Regions from separate parts of the Homo sapiens genome. Here region 2 is linked to region 1. Evidence: promoter capture Hi-C in human tissues and cell types (Jung and others, 2019). All regions are on one chromosome and are shown on one strand. The core of a region is centred on a gene start or on the middle of the fragment in contact, and the rest is flanking DNA. Distances in the headings are between cores, read along the strand shown.

Region 1 (4,461 bases), core at 53-2,552:
AGCAAGGCCAGTATGGAAACTTCCAGCAATTTCACCAAAAGTTTTCAGCAAAATATTACAGATTAGAAAACATCTGTTTCAGAATAGCTACCAAGTGCTAAATAAAACAGAAAACAGAAGTTACATCTCATTATCCTGTGACTTCAGGAGTTATCATTCCCACTTGAATATGTCTTGTCATGGGAAATGACCTTCAGGAGGCATCTTCTTTGTATTTCTTACTATATGTCTCCCCACTGTCCCTGAACTATCATTATAAACTTAATTTTTTCTGCACCCAAAGCTTGTGGGAACTAGAATGAACAGAAGAGGAATGAATGAAGCCCTCATTCTTTTCAGCGATTTTCAGCTTAGGACCCAGTTTTGGAACAAGATAGACCCAAATCTACTTCCTGGTTTCCTGCTTAGAAATAAGATGCTTATCCTTTAAGGCAGATTGTCAAGCTCCTTCAATAGAGGTGAATGAGGACACCCATCATCTGCAAATCATTACATCTTCACAAGAGAATTATGATATTCTCCAAATACCATGAAACTTCAATTTTTAATCTTCTAGGGATATCAAATTAAACCAAATTTATCTCTCGCCTGAAGACAGCCTGGAGGACTGAGACTGTAATCTTGATTCCAACTCCACACCAGCCATTAGTTACATTGGGACAAATTCCTTCCCATGATCAGGCTGCAATTTTATCATTGGGAGCACTGGAGTAAATGGTTCCCTAAGATCCTTCTCCATTTTGATGTTCTAAGGATAAATTACTATTGAAGAAATTATTTCCAGTTGTTGGTTCAATCTTCAAAATCACCAAAAGCTTTGATTTTAAGGTGAGGTTATAGGAGTTGGCTCTTGATATTCTATGCCTTGTGCTTCAGAACAGGCAGTCGAAAGGGAGGAAAGTTGGTTTTCCTTGAGATGACTGTCTTGTTCCCTCATTGGTTTGGGATTCTTCATGTTCAGAGGTCCACTGAGAACTTCAGCTTACCATGACTTTCCCTCTTCAATGGTACCACTGTAGTCAGGTGTAAGATGGTGATGTGGAACCCTTCACTGACATTGCACCCAATTCTCCAGATTGTCTTTCCAGTAATTTCTTTCATTTCTCCTTCATCCCTGCGTCATGGTCCCTTTAAGGGAGCGGCCATAGTTGAGTGGTGGGAGCAGCTGCTGGCAGCAAAGAGACTTGCAGGATTTGGCCTACCCATGGCCACTTACCGCGCACGCTCAGGACCGGGGGCTTGGTGGGAAAGGAAGGAGGGACTTAGGGTGCGCCTGCGCATCAGGGGCGCGCGCAAGGGGCTGATTTGGTGATCCCTTTAAGAAACCGCAGGCGGAGGAATTTCTCTGAGAGAAAATAATCCTACTCACGGGGCCCCTTGGAGGCCATTAACCCCCCGAGTCCCGGCCCCCACCCCGTCCCCGGGCAGGCCCTCCCGCCCACGCGCGGACCCGTGGGATCTCAGAAGCTGCGGCCCGGCGCGCGGCATCCGCCCCCTCCCCACTCTCGGCGCAAGGCCCGGCCGGGTCCGGGGAAGCTGCCGCGAGGCGGCCGTGCCTGCAGTGTGGGCGGGGGCCGGGGGGCCGAGAGGTACCGCCGCCACCGCGCGGGGAGCCGCAGCGGTTCCGAGCGGGGCCCAACATGGCGGAGAGAGAGGTGGAGTCCGGCCCCCGAAAGAGGGTAGGTGAGGTGAGGCAGAACTCGGGCGGCGGGGGGCGGGGCGCGGCCCGGGGCCGGGAATGGGCCATACTCAGGTTCGTGGAGGGGTCGCCGAGGCCCAGTTAGGACAAGGTTGCGGGCAGGTCTGAGGCAGCCTTGGGTCCGGAGCGCGCTGGCGAGCGGTCCCTCGGCAGGTGGGACAAAGATTTGGTGCTGGGTGGGGGGGAGGGGAGGGGGCCGTTGTTTGCCTTCCTCCCCCCGACGTTCCCCAGCACTGGGGTGGGATATCTAGGCCCAGGGAGGGGAGGTGTCAGATTCTTAAGTGCATCTTTAGTGCATCTTTAGTACATCAGAGTCTGGAAGTTAACTGGGGAGAGGTCAGGTGGGGGTGGTGGTGGCGGGAATAAGTCGTGGAGGGGTCTCAGGAGAAATAACCGGAGGGTTCTTCAGTAACACCATCGCGAATTCATTTTCCTGCCTCCTTTCCCCTCCCCCCATAGCCGTTATCTAGACCAAAGTCGGGGTGGTGGTCTTACCTGTGAAGAAGTGGGATCGTTGGCATGTCCTGATTTAGGAGAAAGATTTTGGCTACTATGAATGTCATGTTCTAGCCTAGCCTCTTACTCGCAATTAGGGACTTGGAAGAATACGACAAGTTTTCTCATAACAGGGATGTACCCAATCAACCTGCAGAGGTGAAGCCAATTCTACATAGGAGTTGTTTGAATACCTTTTAAAGTTTGTCTGGAAACTTTCCTTATTTAATTCTGAGTGGTTTTTTTCAGATGGCGAACAATACTGTACTATCGATTGAGCAATATCCCTCACTTTTCTTTTACTTCCTCCCCGCTTAGCATGATAAGAAGTAAGTTTCCTTTTAGGAGTCTTCCTTTTGGGAATGGTTTCAGAAACGATCAATTAGCAAAAGGGCAAAAAATTACTACTTTATGAAGAATGCCCTTTCAGCTTAGCGTAAAATTAGTAATCTCGTAATGATGCTACAGCTGATGTTTTGAGTGCTTACTGTGTGCCTGGCACTGAGCTAAGACCTTTATGTGAAGAATTTAACTTCATAGTAACTCCTCCTAGAACCTATTTGCAGATGAGGAAATTTAGGTGTTGAGGGCTTAAGTAATTTACTTAGATCACACAGCTAGTTGCAAGGTTGAGGTAGGATTTGAATCCAGGTTTGTCCCAACTATAGTGCCTGTGTGGGATGCCACAGAGGAGTTTCTTTAATCTGTGTTTCTCTCCTTAAAAGCTTAAATTGTAAATGACCAAAGAAGTGTCAAGTATTATTTTTTCCAACAATTTATTAGGAAAATATTTTGAACTATCCGTCAATATTATAAAACTTACGGGGAGCAGTCATACACCCAACCGCCTAGATCCTACTGTTAACATTGCATTCCGGACATGCACAGCGGCTCACGCCTGTAATCCCAGCACTTTGGGAGGCCGAGGCGGCAGGATCACTTGAGGCCAGGAGTTCGAGACCAGCCTGGCCAACATGGTGAAACCCCGTCTCTACTAAAAATACAAAAAATTAACCCGGCGTGGTGGCGGGTGCCTGTAATCCCAGCTATTCGGGAGGCTGAGGCAGGGGAATCGCTTGAACCTGGGAGGCGGTGGTAGCAGGGAGGCGGTGGTAGCAGTGAGCCGAGATCGTGCTACTGCACTCTAGCCTAGGTGACAGAGGGAGGCACTGTCTCAAAACCCCCTCCAAAAAAAAAATTGCATTCCACTTGTTTTATCATATATTTACCCCTCTATCCCTCTTTCTGTTCATCAGTCGTGTTATTTTAATGCATTTCATCGTAGTGTTTTGAACAATAAATTTTTACCATTGATAAGTTTACGAAATGTTGGATTCACCTAATGCAATAATTAGTCATAGAGCAAGTTAAGCTGTATGATGGTATGTCCAAATAGTTTTGTAAGTATAAATGTTGTGTATGGAATGCATGTGTTTTGAAATTTTAAAATTTTCAAGTTGTGTTCAGTTTTGAACTAGATCCTTACTGTGCTTGGATGAAGGCATATGGCATATAGTCCACCAATGAAAATATACAGGGTAAATTACTTAAGATATGTAATGTTAATTCAGGGAGATTTCTGCATCCAGTTGCTGTGAATGTTGTCATTCACCTTCTGTACTAGGATGTTCTAGGATATTCTAGAAAACATTGATGTGTGTTGACAACAAATTCAACTAGATTTTAAATATATTCTGCCTCTTGTCGTACACTTAAAAGATGTTACTGGTCTTGTGAATCTTCTGCTAAAGGAATGCTGGAAAAAAAAAAAAAGATACCATACTGGTAGCAGTAAAAACTTTATTATTATTATTATTTTTGAGACAGAGTCTTGCTCTGTTGCCCAGGCTAGAGTGCGGTGGCGCAATCTCGGCTCGTTGCAACCTCCGCCTCCCGGGTTCAATTAATTCTCCTGCTTCAGCCTCCCAAGTAGCTGGGATTACAGGCAAGCACCACCATGCCTGGCTAATTTTTGTATTTTTAGTAAAGATGGGATTTTGCCATGTTGGCCAGGCTGATCTCGAACTCCTGACCTCTGGTGATCAGCACACCTCGGCTTCCCAAAGTGCTGGGATTACAGGTGTGAGCTACCGGGCCTGGCCCAAAAGTTAATTTTATTTTTAACAACCTATAACATACGCAGGACTTGTATAGGTTTCCCCCATTATTTTGCCAGTTTCATCACAGAGGAAAATTACATTCATTGATTTTTGGAATTAATGGTGTGGTGGCACATGCTTCTAGTCCTCGCTATTCAGAGGTTGAGG
Region 2 (4,436 bases), core at 1,483-3,982, 500 kb after region 1:
AAATCTGAACACTGACTAGATACTTCTTAGGTGTGGTAATAATATCGTAGTATCTATTTTTGGAAAGCTCTTGTTTGTTAGATATGCACACTAAAATCTTTGTGGTTCAAATAATATGATATCTTGGATTTTCTTCCAAATAATCCTGTGAGAGGAAAAATGGGTAGCTGTATGAATAAAACAAGATTGGCCATGACTTGAAAATACAGGTTGAACATCTCTAACCTGAAAATCTGAAATGCTCCCAATTCCAAAATATTTGAGCACTGACATGATGCCACTAGATGAAAATTCCACACCTGACCTCATATGATGAGCTGCAGTAAAACCTTTGCTTCATGCACGAAATTATTTTAAAATGCTGTATAAAATTACCTTCAGACTATGTGTGTAAGGTATATATGAAATATAACTGAATTTCATGTTTAGACTTGGGTCCCTCCCCCAAGATATCTCATTATGTGTATGCGAATATTCCAAAATCCAAAATGAATCTGAAATTCAAAACGCTTCTGGTCCCAAGCATTTCAGACGAGAGATATTCAAACTGTAGTTGAAGTAAGGTGATGGGTTCATTATACCATCCTTTCTACGGTTGTATAGGTTTGAAAATTTCTAAATAAGACAGTTTAAAAAGTCGCAAATAAAAACCTAAGGAGGAGGGGTGTGTTAGGTGACTTGATCAGTTAGTGACCTTAAAGCTAACCCTAGATGCCAAGTCTACCTCCTTAGTGTTCTCAGGGCTCTGAATCAACTTATTAATAAAGGGAGAAATATGAACATCAGTAATGTAACAGGGCACAAGGCCTCAGCTGAGTGGTTTCTCAAAAAATTATTAAATTGGTCAGGCATGGTGGCTCACGCCTGTAATCCCAGCACTTTGGGAGGCCGAGGTGGGTGGATCACAAGGTCAGGAGTTCGAGACTAGCCTGGCCAATACAGTAAAACCCCGTATCTACTAAAAATACAAAAATTAGCTGGGCGTGGTGGTGTGTGCCTGTAGTCCCAGCTGCTCAGGAGGCTGGGGCAGGAGAATCGCTTGAATCCAGGAGACAGAAGTTGCAGTGAGCCGAGATTGTGCCACTGCACTCCAGTCTGGGCAACAGAGCGAGACTCCGTCTCAAAAAAAAAAAAATTATTAAATTGATTTGAATGCAAGGTACAAATTTTTTTTTTTTTTGATACAGTGTCTCACTCTGTCACCTAGGCTGGAGTGCAGTGGCAGGATCATGGCTCACTGCAGCCTTGACCTCCCAGGCCCAAAGGATTCTCTCACCTCAGCCACCCGAGTAGCTGGGACCGAGTAGCTGGGACCACAGGCGACGCCCGGCTAATTTTTTTTTTTTTGTAGAGGCGGGGTTTTGCCATGTTTTCTATGCAGGCTGGTTTCGAACTCTTGAGCTCAAGCAATCTGCCGGCCTTAGCCTCCCGAAGTGCTGGGATTGCTGAGAATTAATATGTATGCACTGATGATCCTCTCAACAATCCAAAGCAGTAAAACTATTACTTCTGTTTGTGAGTGTGGAAACCGAATTTAGGTAACCAGACAGCTCAAGGAATAGGGCTGCTTTGAATGACGATTATCTTCTAGGCAATTTGCAGCAACGTCAAAGGGCAGGGCCAGTAACAGGGTGGGGTGAGGTCTCAAAAAATTCAGTAATCAAAATGAATAACATTAATGCAATATTTTTTAAAAAATTAAATCAATAATCTACAGCTCATGAGGTAAATAATATGCCCGCTTTTGTAAATAAAGTTTATTGGAAACAGGGATGGAATTAGGGTGAGGTGATTGAGGCAAGGTCGTGCAAATGACTGGTCGGATCTCGTCTTTGTTTAAACGTCTGATATTTTGTTCAATATCAAATCATAAAAAGTTTTTGCATTAATTTTGGTTTTTTAAAAATATTGCATTAAAATATGAGTTTGATTGAGGGTTTTGGCGCCCCTTTAAATTTTGCTCCTAAGGCGGGAGTGCCTTGCCCGAATCCGGCCCAGAAAGGACACAGCTCTGGAAACATCTGTTTTCTATGCCCAATTTCGCCAGGGAGCTGCCAGCCACCAGCCAGGAGCCCCAGCGGTGACTTCCCCACTCGGGGCCCGGTCGGAAAACGCAAAGGGCCTGCGCGCGATGACCTCCAGGGCCCCTCCCAGGCCCAGTGTGGAACTCCCTAACACCCTCGCTCGCCCTCTCTCTGCGGAGAATCCCCCCGCACCGCTGCGGCCGGGTTCGGCTAGAGCCTCCCGGCTTTCAGAGCACCCTGAGGGGAGGAGCTTCCGCGACAGGAAACGCGCCAAAGGGGAGGGCTGGCGGCAGGAACCGGCTGAAGAGGGGCTGGGCTGCCGGCAGTGCGCGCCGCAGAGACCTGGAGCTCTCCGGCCACGGAGCCCGAAGCGCGGGAAGCCCGGCGGCGGGACGGGATGCCCGGTCGGAACCCATCCCGGCCGAGTCTCGAGGCCGCGGGAGCCGGCGCGGCGAACGCCGGGAGCCGCAGTCCTCCCGCCCGGGCGCCTCGGGTCAGCGGGGTCTACCCCGGCCCCACCTAACCTCTCGGTGCCCGGCCTTCTAAGCCCCCGTGGGGGGCGTGTGCATAAACTCACCTCAGAACCCACCTCGCCTGTCATGACTTCTGCCTCCCCTGCGCTCCACTAGGGACGGAGCTGTCTCTGATTCCCTCAGCCGGAGAGCAGCGGCTCCCGCCGTCTCCAGCCCAGCAGTGCTGTTCTTGCTTTCCCGCCCAGCCAGAGTGGAGGTCCCACCCAGATGGTTTGCACCAATCCAGAGGGGGCTTTCCAGCGAGTCCCCGCCCCCTTCCGACCCACCAATCACGCAGCGCCTCTGGCCGCCCAATCTCCTATTACCCAGGCTGAGTTGGCGGGTCGCAGCTGCTGGTAGCGGAGCCTGGGGGAGCTGGAGGTGCACGGGGGCGGGGCAGTCGGTACCAGGCGAGCCGTGGTCTTTGACCTTTGACACTTGCCAAAGCATCGAGTGCGATTGGAGGGGTGAGTCTTTCGGGGGGAAGTGAGCTGGGAAACGGTTCCTGGGCACCTGGGAGTGTCCTGTACCTGAACTTTTTAGAGGAATTCCAAGGTTCCCGTGGGGATTTTCTCCACTGACTTCATTTCTGGAGCAGCTAGATCCTGTGTGCCTCTTGTACATGACACTTACCACTGAATATATATATATATATATATATATATATATATATATATATATACACACACACACACATATGTACACACATATATACATACACATATATACACATACACATGTATGTGTATACACACACACTTTTTTTTTTTTTGAGATGGAGTCTCCCTCTGTTAGCCAGGATGAAATGCAGTGGCGCGATCTCGGCTCACTGCAACCTCCGCCTCCCGGGTTCAAGCGATTCTCGTGCCTCAGCCTCCTGAGTAGCTAGGATTACAGGCACCCGCCACCAACCCCTGGCTAATTTTTGTATTTTTAGTAGAGACGGGGTTTCACCATGTTGGCCAGGCTGGTCTCGAACTCCTGATCTCAAATGATCCTCGCCTCGGCCTCCCAAAGTGCTGGGAGGCCTCATACCCCTCACAGGCGTGAGCCACTGTGCCCGGCCCACTTTTATTTTTTAAAGAGGGCCGGGCTCCATGGCTCACGCTTGTAATCTCAACGCTTTGGGAGGCCGAGGTGGGAGGATGGCTTGAGTCCAGGAGTTTGAGGTTAGAGTGAGTTATGATCGCACCACTGCACTTCAGCGTAGGCGATAGAGGGAGACCTTGTCTCTAAAGAAAAAAGTTTTGTGGGCTGCTCAGATACCAAAGAATATGGTTGGATAATCTTTATAATTCTCTGTAGAGTTAATTTGAGGATGTAGAAAGCACTCATCACTCCTAGAGGGCATTCTACCTTTAAACAAGGCTGGAAAAAGAATTGAAGCTCTGAAATCAGGTTTATCCCAGACACAGTTCTTTTTTTTTTTTTTTTTTTTTTGTTGAGACAGAGTCTCTCCCTGTCACCATGGCTGGGTGCAATGGCGTGATCTCGGCTCACTGCAACCTCCGCCTCCCGGGTTCAAGCGATTCTCCTGCCTCAGCCTCCTGAGTAGCTAGGATTATAGGCATGTGCCACCACGCTCAGATAATTTTTTGTAACTTTAGTAGAGACAAGATTTCACCATTTTGGCCAGGCTGATCTTGAACTCCTGACCTCGTGATCCGCCCGTCTCAGCCTCCCAAAGTGCTGGGATTACAGGTGTGAGTCACCGCACCTGGCCTATCCCAGACAATTCTAATCCCAGTTTTGCCACTGTGCTGGCCATTATTTTTTGCCTCTCCAGGTCAATTCTCTGTCCTTCCTTTACCCTGGTGTGTGTCAAGGCAAGGCTGACCTCTCTAGACTGTATTATCCCAGCTCCCTTGCCCTTCTGGTTGGGTCAGGCCCCTGTAAAGAC

Evidence for each region. Contacts are between HindIII fragments. The study calls those that stand out against the background at their distance.
Region 2: a contact is called between the fragment with the promoter of CLSPN here and the fragment with the promoter of ZMYM4 in region 1, in 2 of the 25 tissues and cell types used here (mesenchymal stem cells and small bowel).

What each region holds. Positions count from the first base shown.
Region 1 is chr1:35,267,407-35,271,867 of GRCh38, forward strand. ZMYM4 (zinc finger MYM-type containing 4) reads left to right here and starts at 1,303. Exons shown (of 30, transcript NM_005095.3): 1 at 1,303-1,679. The coding sequence starts at 1,641. RefSeq lists enhancers at 993-1,052, 1,073-1,132 and silencers at 1,263-1,622, 1,693-1,822. The HindIII fragment of the contact is 5,206 bases long and covers 550-4,461 here.
Region 2 is chr1:35,767,246-35,771,681 of GRCh38, forward strand. CLSPN (claspin) reads right to left here and starts at 2,733. Exons shown (of 25, transcript NM_022111.4): 1 at 2,602-2,733. The coding sequence starts at 2,625. It overlaps CLSPN-DT (CLSPN divergent transcript), which reads left to right and starts at 2,850. Exons shown (of 3, transcript NR_199050.1): 1 at 2,850-3,003. RefSeq lists a silencer at 2,346-2,575. The HindIII fragment of the contact is 25,943 bases long and covers 1-4,436 here.